Linked DNA regions of Homo sapiens: region 1 is linked to region 2. Evidence: promoter capture Hi-C in human tissues and cell types (Jung and others, 2019). All regions are on one chromosome and are shown on one strand. Each heading gives the region's core, a stretch centred on a gene start or on the middle of the fragment in contact. The rest is flanking DNA. Distances are from core to core; before and after follow the strand shown. Region 1 overlaps PLEKHG3 (pleckstrin homology and RhoGEF domain containing G3). Region 2 holds the start of MTHFD1 (methylenetetrahydrofolate dehydrogenase, cyclohydrolase and formyltetrahydrofolate synthetase 1).

Region 1 (5,037 bases), core at 981-3,480, 320 kb before region 2:
AGCACTTTGGGAGGCCAAGGCAGGCGCATCACAAGGTCAGGAGATCGAGACCATCCTGGCTAACAAGGTGAAACCCTGTCTGTACTAAAAATACAAAAATTAGCCAGACGTGGTGGTGGGTGCCTGTAGTCCCAGCTACTCGGGAGGCTGAGGCAGGAGAATGGCATGAACACGGGAGACGGAGCTTGCAGTGAGCCGAGATCATGCCACTGCACTCCAGCCTGGGCAACAGAGTGAGACTCCGTCTCAAAAAAAAAAAAACAAAAAAAAAGCATTCTTGTTTCAACTGAGGCAAACACCCTTTGGGATAACTGGCAATCTGCTTGGGTGGAGCCGAATTAAGATTGGACTCATCCAGGCTCTACTGTAACACAGTCAAACTTTGGCCAGCTGGAACCTCTGTAGAGAGAGGGCATCCAAAAAGCAGCATTTGCAAGAGCATGCAGAGTTTCAAAACAGTGTGGGGTAGGGCTAAGAGCGGGCTCCAAAAGTTCAAACCCCATCCCTGCCAAGTATTAGCTGAGCGATCCTGAGCAAGTTACCCAACTCGTGGGGACTTGGTTTCCTCATCTGGGGTGGGTGAAGTGGGTAAACCACCTACTTGGTCTTATTTAAAGGATTAGTGATATTATTACCTAAGTATCAACACTTAAAATTTTAGCCAACCTGACTGGGAATCTTTTAAAAATCCGTTACACACTTCCCTGCCTTCCTAAACAGAGTCAAGGGAACATAATTTAACCTTTTCTTGATGACTCTGGGTCACAATTACCAGCAAAGCATAAATTATCAAACTGATGATCCCCAGACACCCAAGGTGTGCCAAGTCATTCCCTCCACACCCCCTCCCTCCAAAAAAAAAAAGATCCCCGGCACTTCTGCTAGCACTTGCTTTTCCTGGAGTTTTTATCTCAGTCTGCTCTCACTGCCAACTCTGCACTGTAGTCATTTTTCCCCCTCTATGCTTGTTTCTTTATCCTCTTTCATTTTATTTTTTTAATTTCTTTTGAGACAGAGTTCTGCTCTTGTCGCCCAGGCTGGAGTGCAATGGCGCAATCTCGGCCCACTGCAACCTCCACATCCTGAGTTCAAGTGATTCTCCTGCCTCAGCCTCCCGAGTAGCTGGGATTACGGGTGCCCGCCACCATGCCCAGCTAATTTTTGTTATCTTTAATAGAGACGGGGTTTCACCATGTTGGCCAAGCTGGTCTCAAACTCCCGACCTCAGGTGATCCACCGGCATCAGCCTCTCAAAGTGTTGAGATTACAGGCATGAGCCACTGCGCCCGGCCTTTATCCTCTTTCATTTGCTGCTTCTTCCCAGCTTGAACATAGCATGACATAGCTTATATGTAGAAGTTAAACAGGGTCTGAGAAGACTGGCATGAAGAAAAATGTAGGACCTTGAGTCCTCGACCTTCTTGGCTACATGCAAATAAGCAAGGGTGCTGGGTGGCTGAGTTCCAAATAAGAGTTTAGGGTAGGAGAGGTGTTATTGGATATTATGGAACACATTATGGGAAGAACTATATCCAACGCTATAAATACACCCTGCTGTCCACTTTGGGGCCAACTTGCATGGGAGCAAAATGTGTAGCAAGCTTTGGAAGACAGGTCCCAATGACTGTAGGTCTCCTTCTTACATGCTGCAGGAATACAGGGCTTCCTGTCCCACTGTCAGAACAGCTGACTACAGGTTAACTTCTTAGAATCTTATGGACATTCTCTGTCAGGAACAGAACATTCATAGTGTGAGCATTTCCTTAATTCCTAAGGTCTCGTCACACAGTAGGGTTTTACTTACTTATTCAACAAATACTTATTGGAATCCTACTGTACAACAGGCACTGGGGATGTAGCAATGAACTGAAGGAATAGAAGCTATATGAGAATACTGGTTCCTTTCTAATACTACACACACACACACACACACACACACACACACACACAGTCTCACAGCCTAGGAAGTAAAGGATGTGAGTTTTTAAGAGCTTCCGGCACCTGTAGAAACCATCTCTCCTTTTGGGACCCTGTTCCCAAGGTAAAATCGACTTCATTCCTCCTGCATCTTTCCCTTCCAGTCCCAGCTCCGATTCTGGCAATAATCAGATCAACTTCTAGGACCCTCAAACTGTGTTTCACAAAAGGCTGCATGCACAGCTACCACTGTGCCCACGAGAACCCTATTTGGGTTGTGTTCAGCCCAAGTCTGCTCAGCATGAAAGAGAGTGCAAGTCCTTAAAAATCCATTCCTTGAGCTTACGTAGGGCTCCCTCCCCAAAGGCCAGCCGCCAGAACTGTATAAAGCCCTCTTCTCCCTAGTGCTTGCATTCCCAGATGGCAACAGCCCACCTAGGGCTGGACTCGACCCTAACACTACCTTCTTCTCCCTAATCCCATGGAACAAAAGCTGTAGCAAATGAGACCACAAGCCCAGATTACTCTAAGGGTGGGACCACGGCTGAAGCCCATCACTCCCTGTTGATCACACTTTGTACCATTCTCAATGCTGTCTGGGCACAAAGATGAGTCCAGCACCATTCCTGTCCCCAGATAGCAACCCAGTTAGCATGGCCAACCTTTATCCCCAGGCAGCTGACAGACAGAGGGGCTACCAGCAGCTCTAGATGGGCCCCCTGCTGATCAGTTTAGTCCACGTTGTCCAGTTTTCTTTCTCCTGACTTCAGGTCACCCAACACTAACATGCTTGGGGCTGTTCAGGGCCCTCTTTGCAACTTCCTCTAATATCAGATCATCTAGCTTTTACCCGTCTCCAGGCACCAACTGGCAGTCCCAGGAAGTTCCTTCATCACAGGGCCTGCCTGGCTGCCGAGTGTGCAGCGACATACTTGGGGGGTGGGGCGGGGGGGTGGAACTGGCCATGACCACTTCCCTAGGCCTCATCCTCCACTGCCCATCTCTCACTTCCTGAACTAGGGCAGGGTCTCCAGGAAGCCACTCACCACAAACTTTGACAGCGGTACTTTAGATTAAACCCCTCCCTTTGTAGGCCCGTGGTTCCAGCAGAGAGGGTCGGAGACTCAGCAGATCAGCTGGGTAGAAGCGGCTAGGAGTTAGGCAGCCGACCCTGAGTTCTCATTGTGTCTGTCACTCTGTTACTTTAAATTCTGGTCCCTGGCGAACCCTTATTCAAAGTCTTCCGAGCCATCTCGAAGCCTCCACCAGAATCCTCCTGCCACCCTTCTGGGCTTTCCTAGGACAGCTCCACCCACCATCTGCCCCCTCCCTCACTTTCCCTACCCCTTGTCCCCGCCCCACTCCGCTTCCGACCTCCAGGCATAATTTACCTGCCGGAGGCTGGGGGAGGGGTGGACAGCCTTCCCAGCTGTGAGGCAGAGTCGGGAGGTCAGGGAGAAGGTGTGATTCATTGAGTCTGGCTGGAAGCAGGGGGAATTCCAGAGCAAGAGGGGGGTGGTCAGGGCTGCCCCTGTCATCCTATCTGTAGGATGGGGGTGGGCATAGGACATACCTGGGAGTCCCACGTCCTCAGCCATCTGCAATCTAGGGTAGGGCAGGAAAGCCTCCCTAACCAGAAAGTTTTTGCCAAGGTTTTCTATTTTCCCCTCCCTCTAATTCCCCACTCCTGCCCAATATCTAAAATGAAAAGCTTTGCACCTACAGTCCTTAGCAATGACATTAAATATCTCATGCTACCCCTGCAGAATTTGGTTGGAGAAATAGTTTATCGAACCTCTCTATAGTCTTTGCTAAGCATTCAACATACGTTATCTCACTGTACATTGCCATGATGCCGCATGTGGTAAGTATGATGACTAACTCCACGTTGGGTAAGAAACACAGCTCAAAGGAATTTAGCACCACATCAAAGTCCACAGGGCTAGTGAGCTGTCAAGCCAGGGATTTGAAACCAAGGTGTGTCCAACTCCAAACTCTGTTCCTCGATGCCACAGTGGGATGAACTGGGCTTCAAGTTAGAAAAGGCAGCGATGAAGAAAAATACCGCCTTCAGGCATCACCTCAAAAGTACCTTCCTCCTGGAAGCCTCCCTGGCCACCCTATCTAAACTGTCACCTCACCCCTTCCATGACAATTCACACCTACCTTCCCTATCATATTTTTTATTTCTGTTTATCACTAACACACTTGCTATTTCAATCTTGTTTATTGTCACTTCTGCTAAAGTCAGCTCCACTGGGTCAATAATTATTGTATATTTTCTTCACTGCTGTGTCTTCTGCATCTGGCATTCATACATAGTAGGTGCTAACTCCTTAACTATTAAATGAATGAATAGAGTACTTTAAAATAGAACTAAGGGGCATGAGTACTGGGAGGAAAAGGTGATCCGTCCATTCAGCAGAAGAAAGGAGAGATGAGAAAAGACGGTGTGGGAATCTGGCCAGAGGTGAGTTGTGGGGCCCAGATGAGCTTGACAAGAGGAAATGAGGATCTGCCAGGTCCGCTGGGGGCTCCAGTAGCCCCTTCCTCCTGGCAGTTGTGATTTCCAGCTGCCAGGGCCCCCGCTGGAGGGCTTCTGCTGAGGAGGGAGGATGGAGTAGGGCGGGTTTGCAGCCACGGAACAAAGGCCTGTGGACTTGCAGCTGGCCAGAGAGGCGGGACAGAGCAGTGGCCTGGGCCAGAGGGGCGGCCTGAGATGGGGGAGGGGGCACAGATGAGGAGCTGAAGACAGCCCTCAGTGCAGCTGCAAAAGCAACACCCTCCCAGAGTCCCTGCAACCCCCAACACAACAGAGAATAGCCAGAGGGCTTCACTTTTAACCCTCCAAGGCCAGGGCGGCCTGGGCTTGTGGCAGCACCCCTGGCTTACAGCTGGAGCCTTCACAAGGTTCTGGGAGCTGGGAGAAGAGAACGGGCAAGGCATACCTCTGCAACAGAGGAGCCTTCCCCCTCCAGCCCTGGTCATCCCGCAGGCCGTGGCCTTTGGCCTCTTCCAGCGTAAACAGTGACCGTGGGATAGCTGCGGATTTGGTAAGGCAAATGTTTACTCTGGGGCTGAGATATTAAGACCAGGGTGTTTTAAACATCCAACAATGGC
Region 2 (4,866 bases), core at 612-3,111:
GTTAGGAACCCATTTAATTCTACTAACATCCCAATGACCTAGACATTACTTTTACTTAACATTTGAGGAAACTTTGGCACAGAAAGGTTAATTAATTTGCTTAAAACCACACAAGTAGTAAGGCAGGAAACAGGGTTTCCAGGTGTTTAGGATATAGACAAAAATAAGACAATACATGTATTTGCCCTTATGGAGTTGATAAACATATTTAATTTGCTCTCCAATTAACGAAAGTATATTCAGTGAGCACCTATTCTCAGTACTGGCCCAGATGCATTATTATTGTACTAAATTATCTGCACTATTATTATGCACTAAATTATCTCTTCACAATCAGTCTTTCTAAAAGGAAGATTTTTATATTAAAACAAAAAGCCACTGGAAAAGGAAGTAAGTTTGAATACAAGCAAACAAAAACAGAAAGTAAAGCAGAAATACAGTTTAGCAAGCCACATGTTGAAAAGCACTAAGCAGTAAGTATTGTGATTTCTTTTTTTTTTTTTCTTAGACGGAGTTTCGCTCTTGTTGCCCAGGCTGGAGTGCAATGGCGCATCTCAGCTCACTGCAACCTCTGCCCCCCAGGTTCAAGTGATTCTCCTGCCTCAGCCTCCCAAGTAGCTGGGATTACAGATGCCTGCCACCACACTCGGCTAATTTTTTGTATTTTTAGTAGAGATGGGGTTTCACCATTTTGGATAGGCTGGTCTTGAACTCCAGACCTCAGGTGATCCACCCACCTCGGCCTCCCAAAGTGCTGGGATTACAGGCATGAGCCACTGGGCCCGGACTTTTCACCACCGATGACTTTGTAATTCACTCAAAAACCTATTACAAAGTTAGGAGTTACAGGACAATTACAATTTAGTAACTGCTGTGGCTGGCAACAGTTACTTACATAACGGGTGATGTGAAAGGTCCCAAGAGCAAACTCAGTAAGGTCACACAGAATATATCTTTCCCTCCTTCATCTACTAGAGGGAATATATTTTTCCCTCTTCCTTCTACTCTCATTTTTCCTCACCAGTCACCTCCCAGACAAAAAGCAGCCAGTGTTACTTCCTGGGAGTAAAGCTGGCAACGATACCCACTAATTAAGCATTCAGATGTCCCGCAAGGGTAGAACAGGCAGAGGTCAAGTGGAATGCAGAATATTCTCAGGACTCAGGAGCCAAATTACGTTTCAAGTAACTCTAGGACCAGGGCAGAGAGATGGCTGTTAGAGAGAAGCACGAGATTGAAGAGAAAGGAAAAATGTATTAGATTTCACTTAGCGTATGATAAGACTATGGTATAGTGGGAAAAGCTATGAGCTGGAAGGACCCTCTGTCATTATCAGCCTTGTAGTCTTGTCAAGCCTTGTCACCTCACTAGTCTCCATCTACTCACCTCCAAATTAACGGGAATTAAGTAGATTGGATTTCTGAGTTCTGACTAGGGGGGCTCCAGGAAGCCGCAACTACCCACTCTCCCGGCAGAAAGTCACCAGCAGCTGCGCGTTTGGGAGCATAGTCGGCACAGGACTTTTCCCCGAAGCACAGGAGCCAGCGGCTACAGCCACTAGGCAGTCCACTTGCAAACGCAGGTTGTGCCCGGGTTCTCTTTCTTTGGCTGCAGGTCTTCAGGTGTTATGGGCCTAACTCTTCCGCTACAAGTGTCCCTCCCGCAAAAAATGGGTCCGGGGGACCTGCACACCCTCAGAGCCCTCGTCCACAGCCCCACACTCAACAACAATGTCAGGTGCTTACGCGGAGATCTCCTTCCCGTTCAGGATTTCTGCTGGCGCCATGGCCTTTATTAGTCCGCTGCCCACGATGGACACCACCAATATCGAGGTTCCACTCCCTCCGCAGCCAAGCAGGACAACCCAACCCACGTGCTTAGGGACTGGCCAGGGGATCACACTACTGCGCCTGCGCCCCTGCCCGCTTCTCCCCCTGCAGACGCGGTGGCGCATGCGCAGTTCGGAAGGACCCGAGTCCCTTAACTAACCGAGAGCTAACAGGTCGGGGACTGCGGGACGGAAGAGGGAGGGGAAGATGAAGAAAATCGGTGATGAATGGCTGGCGGAAATGATTGGCGGAAAGAAAGAGCCAGTTCACAGTGCGCCTTTGTATTCGGCGGGAAACCCGGCCGAAGAGGGAGCTGGAAAGGACTCCGGAATCCGGCCGTAATTCCAGCCAATCAGGGAGTAGAGTTGCGGGGCGGGGTTGGGGCGGGGCAGTCTCGCGGGAGATAGTTTCGCGGGTTCGGGAGGCGAGTCTCCGGTTTCCGCCCAGTCTCTGGGGACGCGGTGGCGGGGTCTGAATCGCCTGGCTTCCAGGGAGTTTTGGGCGGGTCCCCGCACGGGAGCGTGGCAGGCGCTGGACTCGACAGCAGATGTGGAACTGGAGAGCTTGGCGCGCCCTCATACTTTGTCACACACCTACGCCACCAGACTGGGGTCGGGCCCCTCCGCGTTCTGCTCTGGAGGGCCTGGGTCTGGGCCCAGCATAGCGCTTTTAGAATCTCCTCAGCTGAATCTGACGCTCAGCCGTAGGTGAAGCTTAGCCCGCTGTTTCAGGCCCCGCCGATCTGGAAGGAGTGTCAGAGCTGGAGCGCGCGTGGCCTCATCGGTGTTGGGGTCACCCCGGGGTTGCCAGGGCTCATGGAGGGTCGTAGTCTGGATTTTGTCACCCCCACGTCCCCGCCCCGCAGCAAGTCTGGGGTTGGAGAACTCACGCGGTCTTCGTAAGCTACATGCCAGTTGACCCTCGAGGAGGGATGCTCCCTCCCCTTAAGCGTCCACGCTGGAGAAGGAGTAAGATGGACAATTGCCTGGGGAGCCTGACAGGGCGGTGGCAGCTGGGATGCTGGAGAGGACTGGCCCCTTGTGTTACTGAGTCCAAGGAATATGCTTGCTCTGCTCTAGGAACCGCGTTCAGGTTACAGTCATCCCAGTAGAGTCCTGAAGATGCGTGGTTCAGGTCACTTAGGACTTGACCAGATACCGGGTTTCTTTTACAAGCCGTTTACTACTGGCAGAGCTCATCTAAAACTTTTTTTGTTTGTTTGTTTGAGACGGAGTCTCATTCTGTCGCCCAGGCTGGAGTGCAGTGGCACGATTTTGGCTCACTGCAACCTCCGCTTCCCGGGTTCAAGCAGTTCTCTGCCTCAGCCTCCCGAGTAGCTGGGATTACAGGCACCACCTAATTAGCCCGCCACCACGCCCGGCTAATTTTTGTATTTTTAGTAGAGACGGGGTTTCACCATCTTGGCTAGGCTGGTCTTGAACTCCTGACCTCGTGATCCACCCGCCTCGGCCTCCCAGAGTGCTGGGATTACAGGCGTGAGCCACCGCACCTGGCCTAAAACTGATTTTTTATTAATTTTGGGGCTTTTAATATTTTTTTCTTATTTCTAAATTCTGAGGTTATTTATAGTAGCCCCATATACGGGATTAGATAATCTCTTGTGATTTTCTATTTCTGGTAATTATTTCTAATATATGTTTTTTTGTTTTTGAGACGGAGTCTCGCTATGTCGCTCAGGGTGGAGTGCAGTGGCATGATCTCCGCTCTTTGTAGCCTCTGCCTCCCGGGTTCAAATGATCCTCCCACCTCAGCCCCCCGAGTAGCTTGGACCACAGGTGCATGCCACCACGCCGGCTAATTTTTCTATTTTTGGTAGAGTTGGGGTTTCACTATGTTGACCAGACTGGTCTAGATCTCAAGGGATTAGTCTCCCTTGGCCTCCCAAAATGCTGGGATAATGGGCATGAGCCACCGTGCGTGGCCTTAAAGTTACTATTCTTAAAGTTTGCACAAGTGATATGTTAAAGGCACAGACTTAGTAATATAATGTCATTATAATAATAACCCTAAAACACATTGTCTCATATTGTGTTGTACCTAAACAAGTGAAATTAAGAAGAAAATTGAAGGAAATGTTTCTGGTAAATTGCAGATAGTGAATCTTTTGTCTTATACTATCAAATAGGTATTGACTATTCCAGCTTTCTTATTTGTTGAGGAAGATGGCAGAAATCCCGTTTTACAGAGGGATAGACTTTGAAGGATAATACCCAAAGCTGCATAGCTGTGGCTGGTATAGGCCCCAAACCTGATGTTTCTTCTCTAAATCTACTGCCTTTGCCATCTCAACAGCCTGGTTTTTGACAGTTATCTATGTATGAGTTGCATAAATCGTTCATTCATGGAGCAAATAATTATTGAGTGGCCACTATGCCAACAGCACTGCTATAGATGCTAGAGATACCCTAGTGAACCAGCAAAGTTTCTGCTCTCAGCTCATATTCTGGTGGAGGAGACAACGATCAAGTTAAAGAAATACATAGGCTAATTTTAGAGATTATGACATGCTATATTTTAAAAATAGGCAAGCTAAGAGGATAGGCAGTGATGCTGGGAGGTGGGAAAGTTTTGTCTCAGAAATGTGGTAAGAGATTTCTTTGGGCATCTGACTTCAGCAGAAACCTTAATGAAGAGAGGAACTTGGAATGTAAAAGAAAGAAAGCAGGGATTTGCTCTGAGCAACTGGAAAGATGGAATTGCCATTCGCTGAGTTGAAATAAAGTAAAATGTAGGACTAGGTTTTGGGGTTAAGATTATGAATTCGGCTTTAGACATTTTTAGATTTCTCTTAGACATCCAAATGGAGAGAAGATATTTAAATCCATGGGATTGAATGAGATCCAACCAAGGGTATTGTAGGTAGAGAGAGGACCAAAGACTGACACCTAGAACCTTTCAGTGTTCAGAATGCAAGGAGACAGGAGGAACCAAGAGGGAAGATTGAAAAGGAGAGTCCAGCTGGGAGCTGTGGCTACACCTTTACTAATCCCAGCACTTTGGGAGACCAAATACAGGA

Evidence for each region. The method cuts DNA at HindIII sites, captures the fragments that hold promoters and counts their contacts. A contact is called where the count stands out against the background at its distance.
Region 1: a fragment that was not itself captured here is called in contact with the fragment with the promoter of MTHFD1 in region 2 in 1 of the 25 tissues and cell types used here (dorsolateral prefrontal cortex).

What each region holds. Positions count from the first base shown.
Region 1 is chr14:64,706,643-64,711,679 of GRCh38, reverse strand. All of the region lies in intron 1 of PLEKHG3 (pleckstrin homology and RhoGEF domain containing G3), which reads right to left. Among named protein-coding and RNA genes, the nearest start is that of PLEKHG3, 4.7 kb to the right of the region's middle. RefSeq lists an enhancer at 2,741-3,242. The HindIII fragment of the contact is 5,509 bases long and covers 1-4,984 here.
Region 2 is chr14:64,385,348-64,390,213 of GRCh38, reverse strand. MTHFD1 (methylenetetrahydrofolate dehydrogenase, cyclohydrolase and formyltetrahydrofolate synthetase 1) reads right to left here and starts at 1,861. Exons shown (of 28, transcript NM_005956.4): 1 at 1,746-1,861. The coding sequence starts at 1,786. RefSeq lists enhancers at 2,009-2,098, 2,619-2,678, 2,699-2,798. The HindIII fragment of the contact is 7,460 bases long and covers 1-4,866 here.